Linked DNA regions of Homo sapiens: all the other regions are linked to region 1. Evidence: promoter capture Hi-C in 16 types of primary human blood cells and fetal thymus (Javierre and others, 2016). All regions are on one chromosome and are shown on one strand. Each heading gives the region's core, a stretch centred on a gene start or on the middle of the fragment in contact. The rest is flanking DNA. Distances are from core to core; before and after follow the strand shown.

The links. Contacts are between HindIII fragments. The CHiCAGO score rates a contact against its expected background, and 5 or more counts as called.
Region 2: a contact is called between a fragment that was not itself captured here and the fragment with the promoter of PANX2 in region 1, in 4 of 17 cell types (naive B cells, activated CD4 T cells, neutrophils and 1 more). The highest score is 6.3, in naive B cells.
Region 3: a fragment that was not itself captured here is called in contact with the fragment with the promoter of PANX2 in region 1 in 2 of 17 cell types (total B cells and naive B cells); the score reaches 7.8 in total B cells.
Region 4: a contact is called between a fragment that was not itself captured here and the fragment with the promoter of PANX2 in region 1, in 1 of 17 cell types (total B cells). The highest score is 5.3, in total B cells.

Annotation. Positions count from the first base shown.
Region 1 is chr22:50,166,414-50,173,410 of GRCh38, forward strand. PANX2 (pannexin 2) reads left to right here and starts at 4,318. Exons shown (of 3, transcript NM_052839.4): 1 at 4,318-4,543. The coding sequence starts at 4,318. RefSeq lists a silencer at 3,492-3,551 and an enhancer at 5,151-5,843. The HindIII fragment of the contact is 7,666 bases long and covers 1-6,563 here.
Region 2 is chr22:50,630,237-50,637,233 of GRCh38, forward strand. It overlaps LOC124905149 (a long non-coding RNA gene), which reads left to right and starts at 1,258. Exons shown (of 2, transcript XR_007068161.1): 1 at 1,258-4,462; 2 at 5,307-5,770. RefSeq lists enhancers at 5,026-5,542, 5,543-6,057. The HindIII fragment of the contact is 690 bases long and covers 3,651-4,340 here.
Region 3 is chr22:49,817,834-49,824,830 of GRCh38, forward strand. It overlaps BRD1 (bromodomain containing 1), which reads right to left. Exons shown (of 13, transcript NM_001304808.3): 2 at 5,118-6,498. The coding sequence starts at 6,484. It also overlaps the pseudogene LOC100420885. Among named protein-coding and RNA genes, the nearest start is that of BRD1, 6.5 kb to the right of the region's middle. RefSeq lists an enhancer at 6,716-6,997. The HindIII fragment of the contact is 187 bases long and covers 2,609-2,795 here.
Region 4 is chr22:49,851,519-49,858,515 of GRCh38, forward strand. ZBED4 (zinc finger BED-type containing 4) reads left to right here and starts at 2,326. Exons shown (of 2, transcript NM_014838.3): 1 at 2,326-2,471. LOC124905147 (a long non-coding RNA gene) reads right to left here and starts at 6,138. Exons shown (of 2, transcript XR_007068156.1): 1 at 5,976-6,138; 2 at 2,984-3,768. It overlaps LOC105377205 (a long non-coding RNA gene), which reads right to left and starts at 1,994. Exons shown (of 5, transcript NR_188597.1): 1 at 918-1,994. RefSeq lists silencers at 1,674-1,763, 1,784-2,513, 2,684-2,973 and an enhancer at 5,159-5,819. The HindIII fragment of the contact is 470 bases long and covers 3,258-3,727 here.

The DNA.
Region 1 (6,997 bases), core at 3,068-5,567:
CCCAGCGTGGCCCACGCCTGCAGTCCCAGCGTGGCCCACATCTCCAGTCCCAGCGTGGCTCAAGCCTGCAATCCCAGCGTGGCCCACGTCTCCAGTCCCAGCGTGGCCCACGTCTCCAATCCCAGCGTGGCCCACGTCTCCAATCCCAGCGTGGCCCACGTCTCCAATCCCAGCGTGGCTCAAGCCTGCAATCCCAGCGTGGCTCACACCTGCAATCCCAGCGTGGCTCACGCCTGCAATCCCAGCGTGGCTCACGCCTGCAATCCCAGCGTGGCTCACGCCTGCAATCCCAGCATGGCTCATGCCTGCAGTCCCAGCGTGGCTCACACCTGTAATCCCATGCCTGCAATCCCAGCACTGTGGGAGGCCAAGGCTGGGTTGGGTGGGGGTGGGGGGATCAGGAGTTTGAGACCATCCTGGGCAATATAGTGAGACCCCGTTTCTACAGATAAAAAAATTTTAAGGCCAGGTGCAGTGGCTTATGCCTGTAATCCCAACACTTTGGGAGGCTGAGGCAGGAGGATCACTTGAGCCCAGGAATTCGAGACCAACCTAGGCAACATGGCGAAACCCCATCTCTCAAAAAAATTAGCCAGGTGTGGTGGTGCATGTCTGCAGTCCCAGCTACTCAGGAGGCTGAGGTGGGAGGATCCCTTGAGCCCAGGAGATGGAGGATGCAGTAAGCCAAGATCCCACCGCTGCACTCCAGGTTGGGCAACAGAGTGAGACCTTGTCTCAAAAGATAATAGTAAAAATTGCTGGGTGTGGTGGCTCATGCCTGTAATCCCAGCACTTTGGGAGGCTGAGGTGGGCAGATCATGAGGTCAGGAGATCGAGACCATCCTGGCTAACACGGTGAAACCCCGTCTCTACTAAAAACAAAATACAAAAAATTAGCTGGGCGTGGTGGCAGGTGCCTGTAGTCCCAGCTACTTGGGAGGCTGAGGCAGGAGAATTGTGTGAACCCGGGGGGTGGAGCTTGCAGTGAGCCGAGATCGCGCCACTGCACTCCAGCCTGGGCAACAGAGCAAGACTCTGTCTCAAAAAAATAATAATAATAGTAACAATTTTAAAAAGCTGGGCATGGTGGCGTGCATCTATAATGCCAGCTACTTGGGGGGTCAAGGTGGGGGGATTGCTTGAGCCCAGGAGTTCAGGGTTACAGTGAGCTCTGACCAGTGATGCAGTGCTCAGGGTTTGAAGAGAGCGTGCACACAAACCGCTAGAGATAAACTCAAAGCACCTGGAAGCTACACCCGCCCCCCCTTCCCCCCGAGAATGGCAGATACTAGAAGGTGGATAGGGCTGAGAGCTGGAAAGAAGACAGGGATGGTGAGAGCATGGACTGGCCGAGCACTTCTGGAAAGCATGGAGAGGCACCCATGCGAAAGCAGAAAGTGCATCTGGAAAACAAAGGCAGCCACCCAGCAGCCACACTCGGGTCGCTCGGAGGGGCTGGAACTCACTGCACTGGGTTATCTGGGAGTGACTGAGTTGTCGGGGAGGGGGGGTGACTTGGTTATGTGAGGGGTGGCTGGGTTCTCTGGGGTGATGGTTATCTGGGGGTGACTGGGTTATACGGGATGGGTTATCTGAGGGGTGCCTCGGTTATCTAGGAGATGACTGGTTTATCTGGTTACCTGAAGGGTGACTTGGTTATTTGGGGATGATGATTTTATCTGGGATGACTGAGTTATCTGGGGGTGACTGAGTTATCGGGTGAATAGGTTATGTGAGAGGTGACTGGGTTATTTGGGGTGACTGGTTTATCTGGCAGTGACTGGGTTATCTGGGGTGAATAGGTTATGTGAGGGGTGCCCGGGTTATTTGGGGTGATTGGTTTATCTGGCAGTGACTGGGTTATCTGGGGTGAATAGGTTATGTGAGGGGTGCCCGGGTTATTTGGGGTGATTGTTTATCTGGCAGTGACTGGGTTATCTGGGGTGAAAGGTTATGTGAGAGGTGACTGGGTTATTTGGGAGGTGACTGGTTTATCTGGCAGTGACTGGGTTATCTGGGTTGAATAGGTTATGTGAGAGGTGACTGGGTTATTTGGGAGGTGACTGGTTTATCTGGCAGTGACTGGGTTATCTGGGGTGAATAGGTTATGTGAGAGGTGACTGGGTTATTTGGGAGGTGACTGGTTTATCTGGCAGTGACTGAGTTATCGGGTGAATAGGTTATGTGAGAGGTGACCGGGTTATTTGGGAGGTGACTGGTTTATCTGGCAGTGACTGGGTTATCTGGGGTGAATAGATTATGTGAGGGGTGCCCGGGTTATTTGGGGTGATTGGTTTATCTGGCAGTGACTGGGTTATCTGGGGTGAATAGGTTATGTGAGGGGTGCCCGGGTTATTTGGGAGGTGACTGGTTTATCTGGCAGTGACTGGGTTATCTGGGGTGAATAGATTATGTGAGGGGTGCCTGGGTTATTTGGGGTGATTGGTTTATCTGGCAGTGACTGGGTTATCTGGGGTGAATAGGTTATGTGAGAGGTGACTGGGTTATTTGGGAGGTGACTGGTTTATCTGGCAGTGACTGGGTTATCTGGTAGGGGTGACTGTTATCGGGGGGTGAGTTGGTTTATCTGGGGTGCCTGGGTTGTCAGGGTGACTGGGTTATCTGCCAGGGCTGATTTATCTGGAGGTGCCTGGGTTATTTGGGGTGACTGGGTTTATCTGGGGTGACTGGGTGGTTGGGTGCTGGGATTGGATGTAGCTGAACTGCCTGCCTCAGGATGAAGTTTGCTGGAAGTCAGGGGCTGGCATCCCTCAGAAAACATGCAAGGATCTTTAAAAACGCAGACGGCGTGAAAGCTCAAAGCAGACACATCCCCTACGCAGCCCAGGGAGGCAGGGGGACCTCCTGGTTTGCTCACAGCAGTGGCCGGGCCTGTGAACACGGGCTCAAAATACATTTTTGGAATGAATTATTGAATGAACTTAAAACTCCAATCACACTAAATCTTTTATATGAAAGATCGTGCACGTTCGTCCTGGTATAGTGGGAAGGGGACCTGCACGAGGGAAAACGGCTGCCTCGAAGAGGCAGGGACCACGCGGGATGCGCCCGCGTCTGAAGCCAGACCCCCGGCTCCCCGAGGGAGAACAGGACGGAGGGCGGGGCTGTGGGGAGCGGAGGGAATGAAGGTCAGGGAGGCGGCGGGGACCCCCTGAGCTGGCACAGGCCCCGGGAACGTCTGTGGAACAGGGGACGGGATGGGGCGTGGGGGAAGGAGGTGCGGGCTGCAGGAGCGGGGGTGATGGGGTCACTCACGGCGGCGGGACTGGGGGTACTGGGTGGGGGGGTCGGGTGGGGCCGGGGCTGCAGTGGAGGGTGTGGGGCGGGGAGATGCCCTCATTGCCCGCGCACTGGCGCCCGAGCCCAGAGAAGAGAGCGCCGGCTTCCCCGCCAGTGGCCGCAGCACCCCAGGAGCGCGGGAACCTCCGGACCCACAGCGGGGCGCGGCCGGGGCAGGTGGGGGGCCCAGGCGAGGAAGCCCCCTCTGCGCCCTGGGCTGGGCGAAGGGCCCTGCGATGCGACGGGGGCAGCCCCAGCGCGCGCCCAGTCCTCACGTCGCCACCGAGCGGCGCCCCCGCCCCAGCCCGGAGCCCCGCAGGGCCGCCCCCACCCCTGCCCACCCTCCCGCGGGCCGGGGCAGCCCCCCGCCAGCCACCCCGCGTTCCCAGGAAGAGGGACCGGTCATTACTCATTCATGTCCTTTCATTTCATTTCAATATTTTCTGCAAAGTCATCGCCCGCGCCGCATCTGCGTGGCGGGGGGCGGGGTGGGGCGGAGCCACGCCGCGGAGTCGCCGCAGGTAAACAGCCCCCTCCCCGCGGCGGGAGCGGGGCCGCCGGCCCCAGGCAGGGACAGCAGCCGCCGCCCGCGCTCCGGGCCGGGATCCCGCCGCCGCCCCCGCCGGAGGCACGCGCCAGGGCGGGGGCCGGGCTGCGGCGGAGGCGGGCGGCTCCGGTGCCCCCCGCCGCCGCCCCGGCCCGGCCCGCCCGCCCCCTGACCCCGGGGGCGGCGGCGGAGCGCCCCCCAAACCCCGCTGCGGGCTCCGCGCCCGGCCAGCCCCGCACCCGCCGCGCGCCTCCGGCTACTCCCATCCCCCGGAGCCCCCCGCTCGGTCCCGGCGTCCCCTGCCACCCTCTCCCGCGGCCCGCGGCCCCGTCCCCGTCCCGCGCCCCCACGCTCCCCGATCCCCGCCCCCGCGCCGCGCGTCCCCTCCCGCCCGCGCCCCCCTCGCCGGGCCCCGCCCCGCGCCCCCCGCCCCGCCCGCGCCCCCCGCCGGGCCGCGCCCCCCGCCCCCCATGCACCACCTCCTGGAGCAGTCGGCGGACATGGCGACCGCGCTGCTGGCGGGAGAGAAGCTGCGGGAGCTGATCCTGCCGGGCGCGCAGGACGACAAGGCGGGCGCGCTGGCCGCGCTGCTTCTGCAGCTGAAGCTGGAGCTGCCGTTCGACCGGGTGGTCACCATCGGCACCGTGCTGGTGCCCATCCTGCTGGTCACCCTGGTCTTCACCAAGAACTTCGCAGGTGAGGCCGGCGGCCGGGGCGCGGGGCGCGGGCAGAGGGGGCGTCCGCAGGTGTCCGGGAGCTGGCGCTTCCCGCGTCCCCGGCGGCTCCGTCCAGCCGCGCCCACCGTGGCCTGGCTGCGTCCGCGGCGTCCCAGGCACCTTCCACAGCCGCCCCCATCCTAGCAGGTGTCGCTGGTCGCACAGACCCCTCGTCTCTATTTTATTGTTGTTCTTCCTTCCATTCGTCCGCCCATGGCCGCGGGTGGGACTAGGCCTGTCTGGACCCAGGGGTCCCAAATGTCATGAGACACGGGGTCTGGTTTGGAGAATGTCACAAGCAGCGCCTGAGGGGATGCAGGGTGGCCAGGTGGGGACCAGGAAAGGCCGGGATGGGTGTTGACAGCAGAGAGCTGATTACAGGGGCTGGTGGAGCTGCCGGGCAGGGTTCCCAGGCTGGACTTGGGTGGAAGGAGGGCAGAGAGAGTCTCTGAGAGGCCCAGGCCCTCCACCCCTCAGGCAGGGCGAGGCCTCTCCGGGTGCACTGGGGGCCTCCGAAGGTTTGAAGCAGGGGGGCTAGCATGGGGCAGGGCCACGTGTCAGAGCAGGGAGCCTGGAGCTCCTGCAGGGAGATGGGGGCTGGACCAGGGCAGGGACCCGCGCTGGTTAGATCAGGACCTGTGGGGGCACTTGAAGCCACCCAGGCGAGGCAGGAAGATGGACAGAGCAGCCAGCCTGCCTGTGAGCCTCTGCGGGGTGGGGTCCTGGTGCCTCTGCCCTCCCCAAGGAGTGGGGCGAGACAGGTGGAGCCGAGAACTTCCTCCCCTGGGGTCTGGGCCAAGGCAAGGGGGATCAGGGTCTCCTGGCCTGTGTGGCCCAGAGGTACTAGTCTGCAGCGGGGAGGGGTGTTGGGACCCTGGGGCCCTCTCTTCTGCAGCCTCCAAACCTCAGCAGACCCTGCCTCAGCACTGGCGCTTCCCAAATCTCCCAGATGCCTTGCCTTAAGGAGTCCCCGTGGCCTGGAGACACCAGGCCTGAGGGTGGACATTGGCCAGGCTGTCTGATCCCACCCAGGGGTGGAGGAGGCCTCTGCTGGTCTCCTCTTCGACACTGGAGGCCAGACCCCGGGGATTAGAGGACCCCTGGGGTGGGCACACAGCACACTCTGCAGAGCAGGGAGCCCAGGCGTGCGGTGGGGCCTTGGGGCAGGCCCAGCATGTCCAGACACCACGTGTGTTCTCTGTGTTTGTAGCAACCAAGTACCGCAAACTAGGCAGTTTCAAACAGCAGACATTTATCTCTCATGGTTCCGGAGGCCAAAAGTCCAAAATCGAGGTGTCGGCAGGGCCCTGCTCCCTCCCACAGCTCTAGGAAAGGGACATTCCAGCCTCTTCAGCCTCTGGTGCTGCCGGCAATCCTTGGGCGCCTTGGCTCGTGGCCGTGCCACCAGTCTCTGCCTCTGTCTTCTCATGGGCTTCTTCCCTCCCTGTCTGTGTCCAAATTTCCTTTTTTTTTGAGACAGAGTCTTGGTATGTCGCCCAGGCTGGAGTGCGGTGGTGCGATCTGCAACCTCCACCTCTCGGGCTCAGGTGTTCTTCCTGCCTCAGCCCCGAGCCCCCAGTAGCAGGGACCACAGGCATCCCACACCACACCCAGCTAATTTTTGTGCCATGTTCCCCAGGCTGGTCTCAAACTCCTGGGCTCAAGTGATCCTCCCATCTCAGCTTCCCAAAGTGCTGGGACTACAGGCGTGAGCCACTGTGCCCTTTTCTCTTCTTCACCACCCCCCCGCTTTTTTTATTTTTATTTTTTGAGACAAAGTCTCGCTCTGTCACCCAGGCTGGAGTGCAGTGGTGCGATGTCGGCTCACTGCGACCTTTGCCTCCCGGGTTCAAGCGATTCTCCTGCTTCAGCTTCCCAAGTAGCTGGGACTACAGGCACCCGCCACCACGCCTGGCTCATTTTTTTTTTTTTTTTTTTGAGACAGAGTCTCGCTCTGTCACCCAGGCTGGAGTATAGTGGCGCGATCTCTGCTCACTGCAAGCTTCGCCTCCTGGGTTCACACCATTCTCCTGCCTCAGCCTCCCAAGTAGCTGGGACTACAGGCGCCCGCCACCATGCCCGGCTAATTTTTTGTATTTTTAGTAGAGACGGGGTTTTGCCATGTTGGCCAGGATGGTCTCGATCTCCTGACCTCGTGATCCGCCCACCTTGGCCTCCCAAAGTGCTGGGATTACAGGCGTTGAGCCACCGTGCCTGACCCATTTTTTGTATTTTTAGTAGAGACGGGGTTTTGCCATGTTGGCCAGGCTGGTCTCGATCTCCTGATCTCAGGTGATCCGCCCGCCTCGGCCTCCCAAATTGCTGGGATTACAGGCATGAGCCACCGCACCCGGCCCAACTTTCTTCTTTAAAGCGGAAAGGAAGCGAGCGCTCTGCCCCCGAGCACCCTCCCAGGAGCCTATGGGCTGGTTCC
Region 2 (6,997 bases), core at 2,746-5,245, 460 kb after region 1:
GGAATGATGCAGGCCAGGCAGACCCCAGAGTGGAGCTTAGCCAGTGAGGGTTTTGGCTTTGCCCAGGAAAGAATTCAAAGACAAGCCAGAGGTAGAAGAAAACAGCTTTATTGAACAGGTGGCGTTAGAGCTCTGTGACTGCTCCTGCAGAGCAGGGCCACCCCGTAGGCTGAGAGTAGCAGCTCAGGGCAGTTTTGCAGTCACATTTATACGCACTTTTGATTGCATGTAGATTAAAGGATGGTTTATGCAGAAGTTTCTAGGGAAGGAGTAGTCATCATTGGGTCATTGCCATGGAAAGGGGTGGCAACTCCTGGGTGTTGCCATGGCAATGGTAAACTGACATGGCACAGTGGCGGGCATATCTGACTGAAAGCTGCTATTGCCCCAACCCTGTTTTAGCCAATCCTCAACTGGGTCAACTAAGTCCCACCTCCTACCTCAGGAGCACTCTCTTGGCCTCTGCCAATCCGAGGTAGTGACTCGCAGGTCACATTTTGTGGTCAGTCTGAAAATGGTTGGGAACCCAAGACATTTAATATTTTAAGCAGCACCGTTTTTGTTCTGAATGTGTCAAGCTTTTAGTTTGTCTTAAGAAGTCCCTGCCAGGCGAGCTGTCAGAGCCCCGGCACTGGGAGTGGTGGTCAACTTGCGGGTTGGTAAAAAGAGTTTACCGACAATAGGTTTGAAAAAGGAAAGTTTGGCCGGGCATAGTGGCTCATGCTTGTACTCTCAGCACTTTGGAAGTCCAAGGTGGGTGGATCACCTGAGGTCAGGAGTTTGAGACCAGCCTGGCCAACATGGAGAAACCCTGTCTCTACTGAAAGTATAAAACTTAGCCAGGTGTGGTGGTGCGTGGCTGTAATCCCAGCTACTTGGAAGGCTGAGGCAGGAGAATTGCTTGAACCTGGGAGGCGGAGGTTGCAGTGAGCTGAGACAGAGCAAGACTGTCTCAAAAAAAAAAAGAAAAAAGAAAGTTTGCCGGGCACGGTGGCTCACGCCTGTAATCCCAGCACTTTGGGATGCTGAGGCAGGTGGATCACCTGAGGGCAGGAGTTCAAGACCAGCCTGGCCAACATGATGAAACCCCATCTCTACTAAAAATACAAAAAATTAGCTGGGCATGGTGTCGGGAGCCTGTATTCCCAGCTACTTGGGAGGCTGAGGCAGGAGAATCGCTTGAACCTGGGAGATGGAGGTTGTGGTGAGCTGAGATCATACCATTGCACTCCAGCCTGGGCAACAAGAGTGAAACTCCATCTCAAAAAAAAAAAAAAGAAAAAAAAAGAAAAGAAAGAAAGTTTATTAGAATGCTGCAGAAGAGTGCAATGAGGTGCCTCAGCAAGAGGACTGAGTACGCCGGGTGGATTTCTCCTTAAGGGCATTTATAGGCCTTAAAGTGGAGGCTTAACAGTAATTTGGACCATATTAGCCACGTAAGTCATGATAAATGATTACATTTATAGTAATTTTGGTGCCTTAATGTCAGCGACGGTTGTACAGTGAGTTTCGTCATGGTATTCTGGAGACACATAGAAATTATAGTTACTTACACGTTTTTTGGGGGAAGAAATCTGGAACCAGATGCCTGCTTTAGATAATAGGGAGGTTTAGTTACTTTTGATTTTCCCCAGATAAGGAGTTTTGCCTCGGAGGGCCTGTTTGATGTTTGATGGTCGCCAGGTGGTTTTTGCTCTCCTCAGGCCCATCCATAAGGGGCTTTTGTCATCCCAATGTTTGTTGCCTGGTCAGTCCTCAGAAAGCCCAATCCCAACAGGCCTACCCTGTGTTACAGGTTAATGGGTCTGTGACTGGCAGCCCCTGACAGATTGTGTGTTACTGGAGGCACTGTATGTACAAACACGTTCCTTAACTGTCTCTGGGAACAAGAGTCTTTTGCTGTCTTTGCCTATTCCTGGGAGTGAATTTTGGGGGCATCATTGGAACCTCCTCTTCTATGCCCTCTCTAAACCTGGAAAATAATCTTTTGGGCTTTCCATGAAGGGGCTTCTTGGATTGAGTTGCTATTGGAATAAATACATCATTGGAAATTCTGATTGTCAATAGCCAAAAGATGAATCCTTTACATTAGAAAGATCCCTAAATTAAAAAAAAAAAAAGATTTTAGAGGTCTCTCATTCTAAACAATTGCCTTATTTGTATTTGTGGGGAGATTAAAGGAAAGACACATAATAATGTTGTGGCTAGCCTTAGAAATCCTCTTCACAAAATTAAAGAGCAAAAATCTGACCTGTAACAAGTTAAAATCCTTTGTGCGCGCAAACCATTGCTTTGGATCCCTGCAGGATTCACAATGAAGACTGCTGCATCTTGGAAACTACTTAAAATTCTGTACTTTCACTACCATGGCCTGGGTTCAATTCCCAATAGAGGAACCAGTCCCTTTTGGTTTGATATTTGTGTGACTTTTGAATTCTTTCTTTTGTTTTTTTTTTGGAGACGGAGTCTTGCTCTGTCGCCCAGGCTGGAGTGCAGTGGCATGATCTTGGCTCACTGCACCCTCTGCCTCCTGGGTTTAAGCAATTCTCCTGCCTCAGCCTCTGGAGTAGCTGGGATTACAGGTGTGAGCCACCACGCCCGGCTGATTTTTTTGTGTGTGTGTATTTTTAGTAGAGATGGGGTTTCACCATGTTGGCCAGGCTGGTCTCGAACTCCTGACCTCGTGATCCTCCCGCCTTGGCCTCCCAGAGTGCTGGGATTACAGGTGTGAGCCACCACGCCCAGCTAATTTTCTTTTTTTTTCTTTTTTTTTTTTGTATTTTTAGTAGACATGGGGTTTCACCGTGTTGGCCAGGCTGGTCTCGAACTCCTGACCTTGTGATCCGGCTGCCTCGGCCTCCCAAAGTGCTGGGATTACCAGCGTGAGCCACGCACCCAGCCAACTTTTGACTTTGTGCGGAACTCATTTGTTGTTGACCCTTTCCCCCTCCACTGGCAGCTTTTGATTTCCTTTCTTTGAGCTCTTTGGGGTGGCTCTGGATGTCATCAGGACTGCTTTGCGCCTCTTTGGAGATGGCTTATGTGTCCTTGGTTAAGTCCATAGCTTTAGTTAAGGCTTATTGGTTTTGGTGAGTCACTTGGGAGGTACCTTTGGTTTTAAAAAAAAAGGTCTCAAAGCCATGGCTATCAGCTGTTGGTCTCAGCTAAAATCTGATAATAAGATATTTGAAAGGATTTTAAAAAAGAGCTCTGTGGTCAGAAGTTGGCTTAATTAAAAACAGGTGAGCTGATCTTCAAGCCATGTATCTACAGCCTTTTCTGCTTTTGGACCCTGTTTCTGGGAATTTTTTTTTCAGGTGACTGAAACCCCTTTAAATTGTGTGTTTGGTCCTTCTGTTTGGTTCCTTTGTTGGTATAATTTTGATGAGAAAAATGTAAAATTGTATTGGCCTTTTAGAACCTTAACATTTTTCCAAATTGGCTCCTCTAAGGATTGCAGTCCCATTTACTTCTACCCCTCCGTGCTCCTCCATCCCCTTTGCCATCTTTGGTACCTAATGAAGGGATCTACAAGGGACTTCTGATGACTTAGAGACCCCTTGGGGAACGCAAAGAAAGGTGCCACGCGCCCCGCTTTTGTCTTCCTTATGGGGCCTGAGGAGTCGTGGGTAGCTTCCTCTCGGGTCTAAAGCTTGGCTGTCTTTGGCACTGTGTCACTGGATCTCTTTGGCTTTGGGGGTACCAGGGATTACGTTGCACTGTGAGACAGTGCATGACCTGAGTGTGTGTGATGGCCGGCAGGTCACTGGCGAGGGCTGCCTCACAGTTTTGGAGGTGGCTGAAAGCAGTTGTAGTGAATGGTTGTTCCTGCAGTGGCTGCTTGTTTCTCTGCATGTTTAGATGAGAAAGGCACAATCTGAACACTTGGAGACTATGGAAGCACTTGGCGTCAAAGGCTGAGACTCCGTGGGCTGATTGCTGTGGGTCTCCCACCAGCCTCAGGGGAATGTCTTCATAGTGAGGTACACTGTGGAAACACTGTATGGCTTTGTCTCATATATATCTCTTTTTAGAGGGAACTCAGCATTCAGTGTAAATGTGGGATCCTTGATTTTAAAAGATCTAGATGCTCTGCCTTCCAGCTGCACCTGTTTTTCACATATTTAAATATTAGGTCCTCCAAACTGCAAATGCTTTTTTGGCCATGTTCATTAATGAGCTCTGTCCTGAGCCCAGTGGTCTAGTTCAAAAATGGAGAATAAATTAATAGCCACATATTTAAATAACATTGTTGTCCTTATAAAATCCTGTGGTGAATTTCTATGACTTTTTGTTACCTCAGCATCCATTTAAAATCTTCCTTTAACATACTAAATCAAAGCTTAAACTTTCTCCCTGTGGAATTGCTTGAACCAAGGAGGCAGAGGTTGCAGTGAGTCAAGATCGTGCCGTTGCACTCCAACCTGGGCGACAGAGCAAGACTCCGTCTTGAAAAAATTCAGTAAATAAAAATAATTTTTTTTTCTCTGTGCTTCAAGATGTAAATTTGTTGCCTTGTTTTCTCTAAAACTTGGTAAGGGCTTTGGCCGTGTGAGACAGATAAATTTTACCTTGTTCCATTTACAGAGGCACAATTTTAAGTATCCTTTTAAACTAGTGATTTTTACCCGATTCGTGGCTAAAATCTTAAAACTAAAGCTATAAAATCTTGATTTGTGTCTGTATTTTTATGTGTACATGCCTGTTTGTATATTATGTACATAGTAGCAAATTGACGTATAAATAAATAAGTGCTCATGAATGATGTAACTAAACCCAGATGCTTTTCTAGTTCATGTGACTAGTAATCTTTGGCAAATAAACTTAGTTTTAAAATTGTTGCTGCTGGGTGCAGTGGCTCACACCTGTAATCCCAGCACTTTGGGAGGCTGAGGCGGGCAAATCACGAGGTCAAGAGATCGAGACCATCCTGGCCAACATGGTGAAACCCCGTCTCTACTAAAAATACAAAAATTAGCCAGGCGTGGTGGCATGCGCCTGTAGTCCTAGCTACTCAGGAGGCTGAGGCAGGAGAATCACTTGAACCTGGGAGGTAGAGGTTGCAGTGAGCCGAGACTGCACTACTGCACTCTAGCCTGGGTGACAGAGTGAGACTCCATCTCAAAAAAAAAAATGATGCTAAAATTAGAATATCTTCAAAGTCGTCAGTCTTAAATATAATTGAGACATCTTTGCTTGGGCCCATTGGTCGGACAGGTTCAGACAGTCTCTGTTAGATGCTTTAAGGTCATAAAATTTGCTTCTGTCATATTTCTGATACTTGCTTAATTTGTCTGTGAACTTAGGTCTTTGGCTTTGAGCCTCTACATTCTGGGGTCAAGACAAGTGGACATGATGTGGCCTGGAGACATCTGTGTGTCCGCAGTACCTAAGCCCCATCCTCCCTGGCCCAGCTGTACCCCCCGGTCATGCTGTTTGTCTGCAGTGCCCGAGCCCCGTCCTCCCTAGCCCAGCTGTGCCCCCCGGCCATACTGTGTGTCTGCAGTGCCTGAGCCCCGTCCTCCCTAGCCCAGCTGTGCGCCCCAGCCATGCTGTGTGTCTGCAGTGCCCGAGCATTGTCCTCTCTTGCCCAGCTGTGCCCCCCGGTCATGCTGTGTGTCTGCAGTGCCCGAGCATTGTCCTCCCTGGCCCAGCTGTGCCCCCCGGTCATGCTGGGAGGGGTTGAGTCCTCCAGGCATTGTCTTTGTAGTAGCCCATTCTCACACTGCTAATAAAGACATACCTGAGACTGGGTGATTTGTAAAGGAAAGAGGTTTAATTGACTCACAGTTCAGCGTGGCTGGGAAGCCTCAGGAAACTTACAATCATGGCGGAAGAGGAAGCAAACACGTTCTTCACATGAGGTCAGGAAGGAGGTGTGCAGAGCGAAGAGTGGGGAAGCACCTCATGAAACCATGAGACCTCGTGAGAACTCACTAGCACAAAAACAGCGTGGGGGAACCGCCCCCTTCATCTAATCACCTCCCACTGGGTCCCTCCCACAACACCTGTGGATTTTGGGAACTACAGTTCAAGATGAGATTTGGGTGGGGACACAGCCAAACCATATCAGTCTTTAAAGCTCTGTCCTTTGTCCTGGGCTTTGCATCTTTAATAACAATTAAAATTGCTTACTTCCCATGTTTTTCACTGAAAATTAGGCTTCCTAAGAGTTAACATTGTAATTAATATATGTATTTAAAACTACTAGATATAAGAGAAACACTTCTGTATGCAAAGTTTATAAGAAAGTAGGATGTGTTTTTGGTAAGGAAGGTTATAAAGAAGGCATGAGAATGAGGTTTTTGTTAAAGGAAAAGTAATTTTGTCTAGTTTTGATGTTTTTAAAGGTTGTTTTAAATTAAAGGAATAAAAAAATGATAGATAAAACTGAATATATATAGAAAGTTTGAGAAACAAAGAATGGAACAAATTTTAAGAGGTTATTAAAGGTTTATGGAAATCTTATGTGGTCAAAGCTGATTGAGATTGAATGGATCTGTTTTTAAGTTTTTATTAAAATTAGCTTTAGTATTAATAATATGCTAATGTAAAGGTAGAATTTAGTTTTCATTTTTGAGTAAGATTTTCATGTAGTATTAATAAGAGACAGTAAAAGATTTTTGTTTACCTTTTGAGTAAACTACAAGAAAAGGAGGAGTAGGCCCGGTACGGTGGTTCACACCTGTAATCCCAGCACTTTGGGAGGCCGAGGTGGGTGGATCACCTGAGGTCAGGCGTTTGAGACTAGCCTGGCCAAGATGGTGAAACCCCATCTCTACTAAAAATACAAAAATTAGCCAGGCGTGGTGGCGCCTGCCTGTAGTCCCAGCTACTCAGGAGGCCGAGGCAGGAGAATCGCTTGAACCCGGGAGGCGGAGGTTGCAGTGAGCTGAGATTGTGCCACTGCACTCCAGCCTGGGCAACAAGAGTGAGACTCTGTCTCACAAAAAAAAAGGAGGAGTAGAGAGTTTGCCTCATGCTGTCTTTATTTATT
Region 3 (6,997 bases), core at 1,452-3,951, 350 kb before region 1:
AGGGTCTCACTCTGTCACCCAGGCTGGAATACAAAGGTGCGATCACAACTCACTGCAGCCTCGACCTCCTGGGCTCAAGCAATCCACCCACCTCAGCCTTCCAGTGTTAGGATTACTAGCCTGAGCCACCGCACCCAGTCAACTTTTCTAACAGCTCAAGTCACTCTAATTTAAATGCATGAGGAGAATATCTAGGTATTTAAAGTTCGCCACGTATTTTCACCTGAGTGATGCTTCCCTTCCTAAGGCTGACCAAGACCAGTTCATCCTTTTAAACTCAAAATAAAATGACACCAGTGAAGGCGGGAGGAGCACCCTATCAGGGTGAAGGCGGGAGGAAAACCTCATTCGAATGAAGGTAGGAGGAGCACCCATCACAAAGCCTTGCCTATCTGAGGTTCTTGTCCGTGAGGCTGAAGTCCAGGCTCTCGTAGTAGAGGAGCTCCTCCTAGAAGATCTGAAGCAGTCAAAGGAACCAAACCGACACAGGCCGTCTGCCTGCTGATCACAGTCTCTTTTAAGACACTTTCTACTTTGCATTCTGATGAACCTAGGAGTTTTGTTAAACAGATTATGCGTGTATTTATCCCTCATTTCATGCAATAACCAAAAAGAGTTATCAGGAAACCCTGTTTGTCTTTTCACCCCATGTATGAACTCTCATGTGAATGAGTCCTGCAGTAATCCATGTTAAGGGAGCCCTAATTTCAAACTGGTGCAAATGGAAAAGACTTTCCCTTTTCCTTTAAGACTAAAGACAAAATGTCCTCCTGGCCGGGCTCGGTGGCTCACGCCTCTAATCCTAGCACTTTGGGAGGCAGAGGCAGATGGATCACGAGGTCAGGAAATCAAGACCATCCTGGCTAACATGGTGAAACCCCGTCTCTACTAAAAATACAAAAAATTAGCAGGTGTGGTGGTGGGCGCCTGTGGTCCCAGCTACTCAGGAGGCTGAGGCAGGAGAATGGCGTGAACCCGGGAGGTGGAGCTTGTAGTGAGCCGAGATCGTGCCACTGCGCTCCAGCCTAGGTGACAGAGCAAGACTCCGTCTCAAAAAAAAAATGTCATTCTATACAGGTGCAACTCAATCCGTTAATAAAAACTGATGTATGCTGGAGAGAGGAAGTGAAAAGAAAAAATAGGGCTGGGTGCGGTGGTTCACGCCTGTAATCTCAGCACTCTGGGAGGCCAAGGCAGGCAGATCACCTGAAGTCACGAGTTTGAGACCATCCTGGACAACATGGTGAAACCCCATCTCTACAAAAAAAATACAAAAATTAGCCAGACACCGTGGCACACACCTGTAGTCCCAGCTACTCGGGAGGCTGAGGAACGAGGATCGCTTGAACCTGGGAGGTGGAGGCTGCAGTGAGCCGAGATTATGCCATTGCACTCCAGCCTGGGCAACAGAGCGAGGCTTCATCTCAGGAAAAAAAAGAAGAACAGAAAAGAAAAAATAACAATAAATCAATGTAAGGCCAGGCATGGTGGCTCACGCCTGTAATCTCAGCACTTTGGGAGGCCGAGGCAGGCAGATTGCTTGACCCCATCTCACCAAAAAATAAAAACATTAGCAGGGCATGGTGGCACATGCCTGTGGTCCCAGCTACTCAAGAGGCTGAGGTGGGGGAGTCGCTTGAGCCCAGGAGGTCGAGGCTGTAGTGAGCCATAACCATGCCACTGCACCCGTCTGAGCAGAAGAGCAGGACTCTGTTCAGGAGATTCTCCTGCCTCAGCCTCCTGAATAGCTGGGATTACAGGCGCGCACCACCACGCCTGGCTAATTTTTATATTTTTAGTACAGATGGGTTTTCACCATGTTAGCCAGGCTGGTCTCGAACTCCTGACCTCGTGATCTACCCACCTCGGCCTCCCAAAGTGCTGGCATTACAGGTGTGAGCCACACACCCAGCCCTGCCTGTTTTTCAAAGTGTTTATTTACCGCTGTTATTATTTAATCATAGTATATCAAACTTACAAAAAAACAGATTATAACCTTAAAACTATCTCTTTTAGCCTGGCGCAGTGGCTCACGCCTGTAATCCCAGCACTTTGGGAGTTCGAGGCGGGTGGATCACCTGAGGTCAGCAGTTCAAGACCAGCCTGGCCAACATGGTGAAACCCCGTCTCTACTAAAAATACAAAAATCGGCCGGGTGTGGTGGCAGGTGCCTGTAATCCTAGCTACTCAGGAGGCTGAGGCAGGAGAATCACTTGAACCCAGGAGGTGGAGGTTGCAGTGAGCCAAGATCACCGCACTGCACTGCAGCCTGGGCAACAAAGCAAGACTCCACCTCAAAAAAAAGGGGGGAAAAAAAAGAACTATCTTTTTTACTTGAAATTTTAATTTTTTAAACCACTAGAATTATAAAAGCAGTCCGTCCCTGAAGGCAGATTCTGTTCTGTCCACAGGGAATAAGGAAGATCCTCTTTCTCTAAAATCTCTAAAACGCTGCTCAGATGGGGTCTCATCTCCCTTCCAGCGTGACTGGCTGGCCTGAAGCATAACATCCTCAGATGCTCTAGGTGGGTCCTACACCGGAGCCATTGGTTAGTGCACACCATAACCAACTAGACTCAGCATCCCCGCCCACGGCTGCACATCAAGAAGCTTCACCATGGGCCAGGCACAGTGGCTCGTGCCTGTATTCCCAGCTGAGGCTGGGAGGAGGCTGAGGCGGGAAGATCGCTTGAGTCCAAGAGTTTGAGGCTACTGTAAGCCATGATCACGCCACTGCACTCCAACGTGGGCAACAGAACAAGACCCTGTCTCTAAACATAAAATAAAAAATAAGAAGCTTCACCCTCATCTACACAGAATTCAAATGCACAGCTGAGGCCTCCTACATGCACCCAGGGGTAGTGCCCAGGGCCTAAGAACAGGGCTGCCAGATCAGCTGCCTCTCAGACCACAGCAAGGCAGTAAACCCGGTTTCAGGCAGCAGTCAGTACTGTATTGAGAGCCTGCCCCTCACAACCACCCCAGAGGTGGGTCCAGCACCATGGTGCCAACAGGCCAGGCGCACTGGGAGCTCCTCCACTGGTGGCAAGGTGGCCTGAAGCACCAGCATCTCCTGGAGACTGGGAAACCCAGACTGCAGAGACCGCGGCCAGGAACACTCGTCCAGGTTTGTTTCTCTCTCTCTACTCGAAGCTGAAATAATAGTTTATTCCCAAGTTAGGAAAAGAACAGAACCACACAGTACGCGGTTTAGCTCCAATACATGCTTTCAAATATTTAGGTCGAGTTTTCTTCTCAATCAGCCCTGGCCACTTCAGCCCCCATGTCCTGCATGCAAACACTGCCTCCTTCAGTCCTGCCTACCCAACATCAGGAGCCAAAGAACAGAGAGCGTGCGGCCCGGCCAGGCCCGGCCTCTCCCAGAGCAGGTCATCATCTGGTACTGGCCAGGGAAGGGAGCACTTCAGACTTTTGGCTCTTCATTTTGTTAGATCACATTTTGTTTATTTTGCTTCAATTTCAGTAAAGCTGAAATTTTTAGACCTCTTATACAGAAGCTCTTAATACAAACCCTAGACTTTTTGACTCATAGGTAGAAATCCAAGCAAAACCATCTCTTCAAAGTCAGATTAATTTACAAAGACAAACACCTTGGTTTTGACAGGGTTTTCCCTGGATGGGAAGGATTATGAGCATTTTTTGTTCATTCTGTCTGAATTGACTAATTATCTGAGTATTTACAGCTCTGTGAAAAGAAACTGGACTTCACTTTGGTAAAGTAGAGTAATATTAACAAAAATCACTTAAAACTTCTTTTTTTTTTTTTGAGACACAGTTTCACTCTGTCACGCAGGCTGCGGTACAGTAGCACAATCTTAGCTCACTGCAACCTCCCAGCCTCACCGCCCGATGCAGCTCAGCCTGCATGCGTCCCACCTGTGCTGTCCTCCCCTCACATGTGGGGCAGGTCTGACACCTCAGAGGGTCCTGCTCACTGACCCCCGGCAGTCCTGGAGGGTCTGTGTGGTACTGGGGCTCTAGGCGTCTCCCCCAGCCAAGCTGCAAGCTCAGCACCAGGCTGGCTCTACCCGCCCTGTTGACCGGCAGGCCCCATCTGTGCTCACAGCTCCTCCCCTTGTTTGGCCACCCTTTCCTCAGGGCATCTGCAGCAAGTGGGGGGCACAGCACGGGAAACGGGGCCAAGGCCACAGCAGTGGATGTCCCGATGCCGGCAGTCACTGGGAAGCCCAGGCCAGAGCCCCTCGGGTTGAAAGTCATACAGAGTTCCTGCGTGGGCTTCATTCCTTCTTAAAGTTTAGTCACTGAAATTCTTAAAAATCTTCACGCACGGCTGGGCATGGTGGCTCACGCCTATAGTCCTAGCACTTTGGGATGCAGAGGCAGGCAGACTGCCTGAGCTCAGGAGTTCCAGACCACCCTGGGCAACATGGTGAAACCCCGCCTCTACTAAAAATACAAAATTAGCTGGGCATGGGAGCACACGCCTGTAGTCCCAGCTACTCAGGAGGCTGAGACACAAGAATTGCTGGAACCTGGCAGCAGAGGTTGCAGAGAGCTGAAATCGTGCCACTACACTCCAGCCTGGGCAACAGAGCAAAACCCTATTTAAAAAAAAAAAAGGCTGAGCAAGTGCTGTAATTCCAGCACTTTGGGAAGCCAAGGCGGGCAGATCACTTGAGGTCAGGCGTTTGAGACCAGCCTAGCCAACATGGTGAAACCCCGTCTCTACTTAAAAAATACAAAAATTTGTCGGGCATGGTGGCGCACGCCTGCAGTCCCAGCTACTCAGGAGTCTGAGGCAGGAGAATTGCTTGAACCCAGGAGGCGGGGGTTGCAGTGAGCTGAGATTGCGCCACTATACTCCAGCCTGGGCGACAGAGTAAAACTCCGTCTCCAAAAAAAAAAACATAGAAAACTACAGATTATTCCAAGCCTACAGACTAAAATCTTTTACAACATCTATTCCCCAAAAAGACGTGGTAAACAAGCAGAACCACACTTCAGGGGAATATTAGGAAGCTGCGCCAACTAGAAACGCAATGACCACACAGCACGGGCCCTGCAGGCTGTGCCCACGTCCTCCCAGGGTCCCACACTGCAGGCTCCTTGTGGACTCAATGCTTGGACACGCTTACCTCTGCGGGGGAATATAAGGAGCGCACACGGTCGGCAGGACCGCGCAGGGCTCAGCCAGAGCTTTCTTAGCCTTTTTTGCCTTCTTCCTGACCTTGGATGTGGACCTGACCGTTTTAACCGAGCTCTCTTTTCGACAGACGCCATTTTTCATTTCGACATCCCCGTAAATATTCAGAGGCCTCCGGGTGCAGCCTGGAGGCGTGTGGACATCACAGTAAGCGGTCTTTCTGACGGAGAAGGTGGTGCCACCGCCAGTCAGTTCCTTCACGGGCTCCATTTTCATGTACAGGCCAGCCTTCTGGGCACACGTCACATGGAATGCTGTGTAGCAGTTTGCTTTGTGGCACTGGATGCAGGCACCCACGCCCTTCTGCTTACAGAGGTAGCATGTCAGTTTCCACCGGGCTGGAGGGATGTTCCTCACCCCATCGATGGGCTCGATGAACACCGTGTTGGCAAAGCCGACCTCTGGGATCCACAGGGCACACACCACGTGACCCCAGCGGTCGTCATCTGTCTTTTTGAAGGCACCACCCTTGTTGGGGCACAGCACACAGTCGGCGGGCCGGGCCCGCGACTGCAGGCAGTGGCGGCAGAGCCACTGGCCCTCGGGGATGTAGGGCACCCCGTAGCACTCCTGGTGCACGGCCAGGTTGCACATGTCGCAGAAGAGGATCACGTTGCTGTTCTGACACTCCCCGTCCATGCAGATGCAGCACACGGCGTCCTCGTCGATCAGAGACTGCTGCTCGCCCTGCTTCTGGTTCTCGCAGTGCGACTCCTTCTCGAAGCGGTCCATCAGGAACTCAAACATGCTCTGCGACACGGCGGGGACGCAGTCGCCCTTGCGCTTCTCATTGACGATCTCCAGCCAGGCATAGTCCTCCTCGTCCATGTCATACTCCACCTCGTTGTCCAGTTCCTCGGCCGACTTCTCGATGAACTTGTAGTACACAGGAGGCCTCCTGGGGGCGGACGGAGGGCTGTACTCCACGATGCGCACCTTGGGCTCCGGGAGGGCACTGGCCGAGGCCGGCGTGCCGTGGGCGCTGGGGAGGGCCTCGTTTTTCTTTTTGACTCTGTTGTTTTTGTGACGCTTAGTTCTTAAGCAGACAGGAGGCCGCTCGCTGTTTTCCTTGTTGCTGTTGCACTCACTCATCTCTTGAGCAGTGAGGTCATCTTCCAATATGATCTCCAGGGGATCAAAAATACTGATCCTGTGCAAGCGCCCTTCAATTTCTATCTCTACCATCCTTTGAGCTTGAGCGTAGGTCAGCGTTTCTCGCGTAGGGGAGTGTTTAACACTGCATGGGGAAGAAGGATGCCTCGCTGCAGAGCCTCGATGACATCGTCCTTTCCTCCTCATTTGGTAATGATTACCTAAAATGAAGGCAAAAGTAAAGGTAATTCTACGCAGGGTGACCAAAGACTCGAGAAAACCACAAAAGCATGCTTGGACAGATCTAGCTCAGCAGCTCAAAGCCCAATCAAAGCAAAACTCACAGCTAACCTCTTTCCAAGGTGTCCAAAACCACACATCCAGGCCTGAGCGAGTCCCCAGGACCAGGGAGGGAGCAGCAGTAACAGGCAGAGAGGCAGCCTGAGGAGCCCTCCTGAGCACCTGCGTCCCTACCACCACACACCAGTCCCCTCTCAGACCACACCAACAGGCTGCGGAGACCACAGCAACGCTCCCCAAGGAGGAGGGGTCCGGCCCAGAGCCCACAGTTGCAGGACTTTCCCAGCATGCAGGCGGTCCCCCAGGAAGTCCACATACAGGGCTGGACCCCACCAGGCACAGAGGCTATGCCCACCAGACAGGCATGCTCAGTGGCTACCTGGTCCTATCGGATGCTCCCCCTAAACCACTCTTCCCCTC
Region 4 (6,997 bases), core at 2,243-4,742, 320 kb before region 1:
TCAACCTGCACTCACTCACTCACCGGCAGGCCCCTTTGGGAAGAGCTGTTGCTCTTTGGCCCCAGGAATCTTCTATTTCTGCACATGAGTGCCAGGCAATTGTGGGGCCCCATTAACCTACTCCACAAAGCGTAGGGGGCCTTGCTCTCGGCACTGGGCATGCTCCCTCAGCACATACAACAAAGAAGTCCCCCCTCCCACTGATTCTAGCAGGAGGCTGTTGGGGGGCAGTCATGACACAGGCATATACAGTGTGTCAGATGTGTCAGAGCCCGGAGAGGGGATGAGGAGAGCGCAGTGTTACTTCCTAGAGCATGGCCCCGGAGAGCCTCCCACTATGCTGACATATGGGCAGCCGTCTGGGAGCTTGACACTGGCAGAGGGGAAGAGCAGTCCAGGCAGACAAGAAGTCAGTGCGAAGACCCCAAAGCAAGCATCAAGGAGGCTGGGGGCTGCTGCAGATCTGATGAGGGGATGGCAGGGGCAGAGCAGGCCTGAGAACACTGGCCTCCACTCTGAATGAAACAGGGATCCCCAGGCCGGGCACGGTGGCTCATGCCTGTAATCCCAGCACTTTGGGAGGCCAAGGCGGGCGGATCACAAGATCAGGAGATCGAGACCATCCTGGTCAACATGGTGAAACCCCATCTCTACTAAAAATACATAAATTAGCTGGGCGTGGTGGCGAGCGCCTGTAGTCTCAGCTACTCTGGAGGCTGAGGCAGGAGAATCGCTTGAACCCGGGAGGCGGAGGTTGCAGTGAGCCGAGATCACGCTACCGCACTCCAGCCTGGGGACAGAGCGAGACTCTGTCTCAGAAAGAAAAAAAAAAGAAAAAGAAAGAAACAGGGAGCCCTTTTTGGGTGTCAGTGCCTGGTCTCAACTCCATAGCTATGGTGGAAGGTAAAGCAGTTTACCTTTTAACTACATGAACAAGCATGGTGGTGTTCCAGTTGAACTCCTTAGGAAACCGACATTTTAATTTAATTTTTTTTTGGAGACGGAGTCTTGCTCTGTCACCCAGACTGGAGTGCAGTGGCGCGATCTCGGCTCACTGCAACCTCTGCCTCCCGGGTTCAAGCGATTCTTCTGCCTCAGTCTCCCGAGTATCTGGGATTACAGGAGCCCACCACCACGTCTGGCTAATTTTTTATTTTTTTTCAGTAGAGACGGGGTTTCTCCATGTTGGCCAGGCTGGTCTCGAACTCCTGATCTCAGGTGATCCACCCGCCTCGGCCTCCCAAAGTGCAGGGATTACAGGCGTGAGCCACCGTGCCCGGCCGATATTTGAATGTCATATACTTTTCATATATGCTAAAATACTGTTTTAATTCTCCCCCAACCTCTTAAAAACGAGAAAAGCATTCTTAGCTCAGGCACCATAGAAAACCCGGCTGCAGGCTGGACGTGGACTTTGGAACAGTCGGCGTGCGGGTGAAGGGGCACAGCCGCGGGGCAGGGGCGGGCTCCGGGCAGAGGCGGCCGTGATAACTCCACGCTCCCGCTCCAGCCGGTGACCGCCACGCGGGCTCCTCTCACTCTCACACTCAGGCCGAGAAAATGCCGAAAGCCGTGTCACCAACGGGGGACCTCGGGGCCACATTCAGCATGCAGAGTTTATTTGGTCTGCTCAAACATTTGTGTTAGGAAATAACACATTAAAAGTGCACATTTCCTTCAGACCCTGAGAAGCGGGCGAGTCCCGTGCGCTCCGCACCGCCAGCCCCGGCCCCGCGCTCGCCCAGAGGGCCGCCCTCCTCCCGCCGACCCGGCTTGGGGCTTAGGCGTTAATCCCGTCCCCCGGGGGGGCCGCGCGGGGAGCCCCGATCGCCTTAGGGTCAACGGCTTAGGTCCCAGCCCACGAGGCCTGACCGCACCGCACTGAGCGGCCTCTGCGCCAGGTAAGGGGGTTCGGGGCGGGACCGGGAACCGCGCTGCTAGCCGTCCCGGAAACCCGCGGTGGGCCGTTGGGTGCGCGCCGAGCCGCTGCCAACTGCCAAGCCACGGGACGAAACCAAGGCGCCCGCGCCCCGCCCAGCCAGAGCGCCTAAGCCCTTCCCGTCGCCCGCCAGCGCCGGAGCGCCCACTGCGCCTGCGTAGTTTGCCCTCCTGGACCCGGGGGCGGAGCCGAAGCGCGCATTGCGCCTGCGTCTTCCGCCCGACCCCGCCCCAGCGGCCGGGCCTCCGGCGCTCCGTCCTCCCGCCCGGCCAGGGACGAGGCGGGGCGGGTACGCGGACACTGCGCCTGCGAGAGTAGGCCCCGCCCCCGATCGGCCCCGCCCCCGGCCAGCCCCGCCCCGCGCCGCGCGGGGCCCTGGGAGGGGCGCAGCGTCCGGCGGCGTCGCGGGCGGCGGGCGGCGGGGCCGCGGGAGGGGCGCGGGGGCAGACAAAGCCGCGGTAATGAATGGAGCGTCCGCCCGCGCCGCCGTCGTCCGCAGCCGGCCGGGAGCCGCCCCAGAGGCCGGGCCGAGGTGAGTGCGCGGGCGCCGCCGCCCCGCCGCCTGCCGCGAGCCCCGTCCCCCGCGGACCGCGCCGGGGCCGGGCCGGGCCGCGCCATTGTCTGCGCCGCGCCGGGGCCAGGGCCGGGGCCAGGCGGGCGGGGGCGCGGTTCCGTGGCCTCGGGGTCCCCGCCCGGCGCCGCCCCGGACCCGCCCCCGCGCGGACCCCGGCCCTGACAGCTGGCGCGGGGGCGGCGCCGACTGAGCGGCCGAGTGCCGGGGGTCGGCGCCCGGCCTGGCCCACGTGCCCGCGCCGTTGCTTCCGGGCGGACGGGACGGGGCTCGGGCTCGGGGCGCCGCCCGGGTCCGCCGGGAGCGCGCTGTCCCGGCCACGTCGAGTTAACCCCGCGAGCCCCGTCCCTGGGACTTCTCTGGACGTGTCATTCCCGTCCCACCTCCAGGAAGGGCCACCTGGGCCCTGCTTCATGTCTCAGCCCAGACGGGTCCTTGCGACGCGCCCCGAGGCAGGTTATTGTACGTGGTTCTGGGGATGACCGTTCACATTTAATGAATAAAAATGTAACTTGCCTTGCGAACCATAATTTCAAATGTTTTTCGACTGCAGTGGTTTTCCTACACCCAAATGAGCTCGCAGTCAGTTTTGTTTCTTCTTTTGTCCCGTTGTGTGGCCCACACCGCCTTCGTTGCTAAGAGAATCGCAGCCCCTCGGGCTCCCTTCTGCGCCTTTCTATTCCGGGTGGCCCTGGTAGACCCGGGCACCTCTGTGGAAACACGTCCCGGCCAAGCTGAGCCGTCAGAAGCTTCTGTTGGTGTTCTCGTGTTGGTCGAAAGGGAAGTTATTTATTTTGAAGTTAACTCTGATCAGATTACGTTTTTAGAAATCCATTCAGACCTCATAGTGAGGCCAGTTTGGTAAAGCAAGGGCATCCTGCGACTTTTTACACAGAAATGTTTTTTATTTTTTCTGTGTATGTCATTCATAGTGACAAAATTGAGGCTAGGAAGGATTTGGTTGGGATTTTTTTTTAAGTGCTATGAATAAGCCACATTTTGATTATGAATTAATTGCAATTACTAAACAAAGTTACTTTGCAAGAGGAAAGTTTACAGGAGTTTGATTCCATACTCCGAGGGTTTCCAATGGGACGTCCGTACAAGGCTGCACACTTCCCGTAGTCCTTAAACGGATTATATCTGCTTGTCATGATTGGCTTTTTTTCAAGAAAAGATCTAGCACAAGTTAAGAGAGATTCTGTGAATCTTGAAAAAGCTTCAGAGGCCCGGTCTTTGAGGTGAGGACACAGTTAATCTATATGGAAAGAAACCTAAGACTTTTAGTCCACTTGACAGGTGGTTACAGGGTCTCCCCCAACACACACTCTTGTCCAGGTAATTCCTGAATAAGGTGGTTGATGTTGTTGGATGTAAAACCTCTGCTCTTTAAGGTTACCTCCTCCCCAACCCCCTCCACACACACAGTGAGTAACTCAGCTGTGCAAAGTATGTCCATAACACCTTGCAGAAAGACTAAAAAAATTACTAGGGGAGCGGACTGACTTCTGTGTGTGTGCAGAGGAGCTGAGAAGCAGCTTCTTTAGCGAAAGGTGTGTGTGTGTGTGTGTCTCAGATCCTTGGTGAGGAGCCCTGGGGAGTGGACTCCTGGCGGCATGAGGAGCAGGAAGTGACCGTGGTCAGTGCCGTCCTTCACTTTGTTTTGCGTTTTTTTCTTTGCCTGGCTTTAGCTTCTGGTCTCATTCTCTTTGGTGTGGTGGTTGTCTTTTGAGAGGAGGGAGCAGGTGAAACAGCTGGGCGTGGCTTTGCCCAGCCCTGGGGTAGAGGCCAAGCTGGCCCTTCCTTACCAACGTTGTTTCCTTCACTGTTTAAATCTCAGGACCTGAGAATGTACCTATAGGAATTGCTCTTATTTACATTTGGCTGTGTAAGAAAGTCACTGTGCCTTTAGCCCGTGACACCCCTTAGCGGTTTGGTTTTGGCTTTCTCTTTTAGTGTCTGTGGATTCCAGCAGCTCTCTGGCTTCAGCCCTTTCAAGGATTCGGGCCTCTCTGCATCCCAGCCTTCCAGGCCCTTCTGCTCCCCACTTTTTAGCACCTAGGTTTTTCTACATTCTGCAGTACCTCAGATCCCTTCCTTGGTCATCACTGGATATGTGCTTTTGTAGTTCAAATTCTGGGAGGCATTGTTAGGAATAAAATAAGCTCTTTGCCATTTCTGAGGCGGAGGGGAGCAGGAGAGACAGAGGTGCTTGCCTCTCTGCCTGCTGGGGCCATGGTGGTTTTCAAAGAAGGCCCTGGCCGTAGGGAACATGGTGGTGGTGAGGAGCAGCGTAAACCAGAGAAAAAGGCTCAGTAAGTGCTTCAAGGAGAAACACCGGCAGGTGAGAGCAGGGGTAATCCCAGTTTCTCAGGAAAGCATGCTCCGGAGACCTCATAGGGAGAGGAGGTTGCCCTGAAGGGTCTGGGGGCGATGGCGGAAGCCCCAGGAGAGCATTGTCCATGAGGTGCAGAGGCAGCCTCACGGCATCCCAGTGCGTACCTCCTGCCCGGCCCAAGCGCCTGCTGCTGAAGCCGCCTCCCAGCTCCCCCGGGTTGTTTCGGAATTCAGGGGACATGCAGCCTAAATGACCCACACTGGAATCCCGGCCGGCTTCCCATCCCTCGTTCTAGGTGAAGGCCGCGCTGGAATCCCGGCCGGCTTCCCATCCCTCGTTCTAGGTGAAGGCCGCGCTGGAATCCCGGCCGGCTTCCCACCTCTCGTTCTAGGTGAAGGCCGCGCTGGAATCCCGGCCGGCTTCCCACCCCTCGTTCTAGGTGAAGGCCGCGCTGGAATCCCGGCCGGCTTCCCACCCCTCGTTCTAGGTGAAGGCCGCGCTGCAATGCCAGCCAGCTTCCCACCTCATTCTAGGTGAAGGCTTTTCAGCAGCCATGGCCCATGTCTTTCCCAGCAAACTCTGTGTGCAATAGAAACAGCTGATGCTGGCCTGGCCCTGGGGATGGGGTTGTGACTGCTGCAGCCCCCTACCTGATTAGGGTCGGGAGGACCTGGCCCCCCGCCCTTCCTGCCTTGCCACCTCCACAGACAAACCCTGAGGGGCTGACTTCCTCCAAAGCTGCTCCTCATCGAGGCCCACCTGGTGGTCTCTGCTCCACCTGTTTGCTGCAGGGAGCAGGGTCGGGAGCATGTGCATTTCGGAGAGCTCTGGTTGCTCCGTCATAGAAGCCATGCTCCACATCCTGTAAGTGAGAGACTCCCCAGCAGCGTTCAGCCATAGCTGCGATGTCAGGCCTGTCACTAGTGGGACTGCCCGGACCCCCAAGGTATGGGTACACGGCGAGGGTGCTGGTGTTAAATACAGGGGACCCACAAAACCACCTAGCAGAACAATCCACATGACCCTGTCGTGTGACCCAGAACATTTCAGGGATGGAACACGGACCAGCTGACCTTAGCGTGGTCGCTGGCTTGCTCTGGAAGGTGCCGTTTCCAAGACGCCCTTACCTGGGTTCCTGAGCACGTCTGACAGAGCAGCTCTGACTCCGGGTTTCTGGAGTCAGACCCCTTGCCACTGTCTTTGACCTTTAGCTTTGGGTTCCCCTTCTCAGTTTGTTTGTTTGTTTGTTTATTCTCACTCTGTCACTCAGGCTGGAGTGCAGTGTTACAATCTCGGCTCACTGCAACCTCTGTCTCCTGGATTCAAGTGATTCTGCTGCCTTAGCTCCCTGAGTAGCTGGAATTACAGGCACCCGCCACCGCACTCAGCTAATTTTTGTTTGTTTTTTGAGATGGAATCTTGCTCTGTCACCCAGGCTGGAGTGCAATGGCACAATCTCAGCTCCCTGCAACCTCTACCTCCCAGGTTAAAGCGATTCTCCTTCCTCAGTCTCCTGAGTAGCTGGGATTACAATAGGCGTGCGCCACCGTGCCCGGTTAATTTTTTTTTGCATTTTTAGTAGAGACGGGGTTTCACCATGTTGGCCAGGGTGGTCTCGATCTCCTGATCTCGTGATCCGTCCACCTTGGCCTCCCAAAGTGCCAGGACAGGACTACAGGCGTGAGCCACCGCGCCCAGCCAGTTTTTGTATTTTTAGTAGAGATGGGCTGTCACCATGTTGGCCAGGCTGGTCTCAAACTCCTGACCTTAGGTGATCCACCCGCCTTTGCCTCCCAAAGGGCTGGGATTACAGGCGTGAGCCACCGTGCCCGGCCCCCTTCTCAGTTTAGCCCAGACCTGGATGTTGGCTTCTGTGTGGGCAGCTGTTGTGAGCCATGGCTCCTGCTGGAATTTGTGGCAGTTGATGCTGCTGTGCACCCCCAGAATAGGTGAAGGCTACTCAGGTGTAGCCCCGATGGTAGTTTATGTCCTCAGGAGGAGAAACTGCCATGTCCCCGTCTGAACCAGGCCCGGAGTCTTGATGCATAGCTCTTTGCCTCCCTGGGTATACTCGACAGCTTGTTGAGAGTGCGTGTGCTCTGAGTTGAACACGAATATATTTCTGTTGTTTGAAGGTTATTATAAAGTT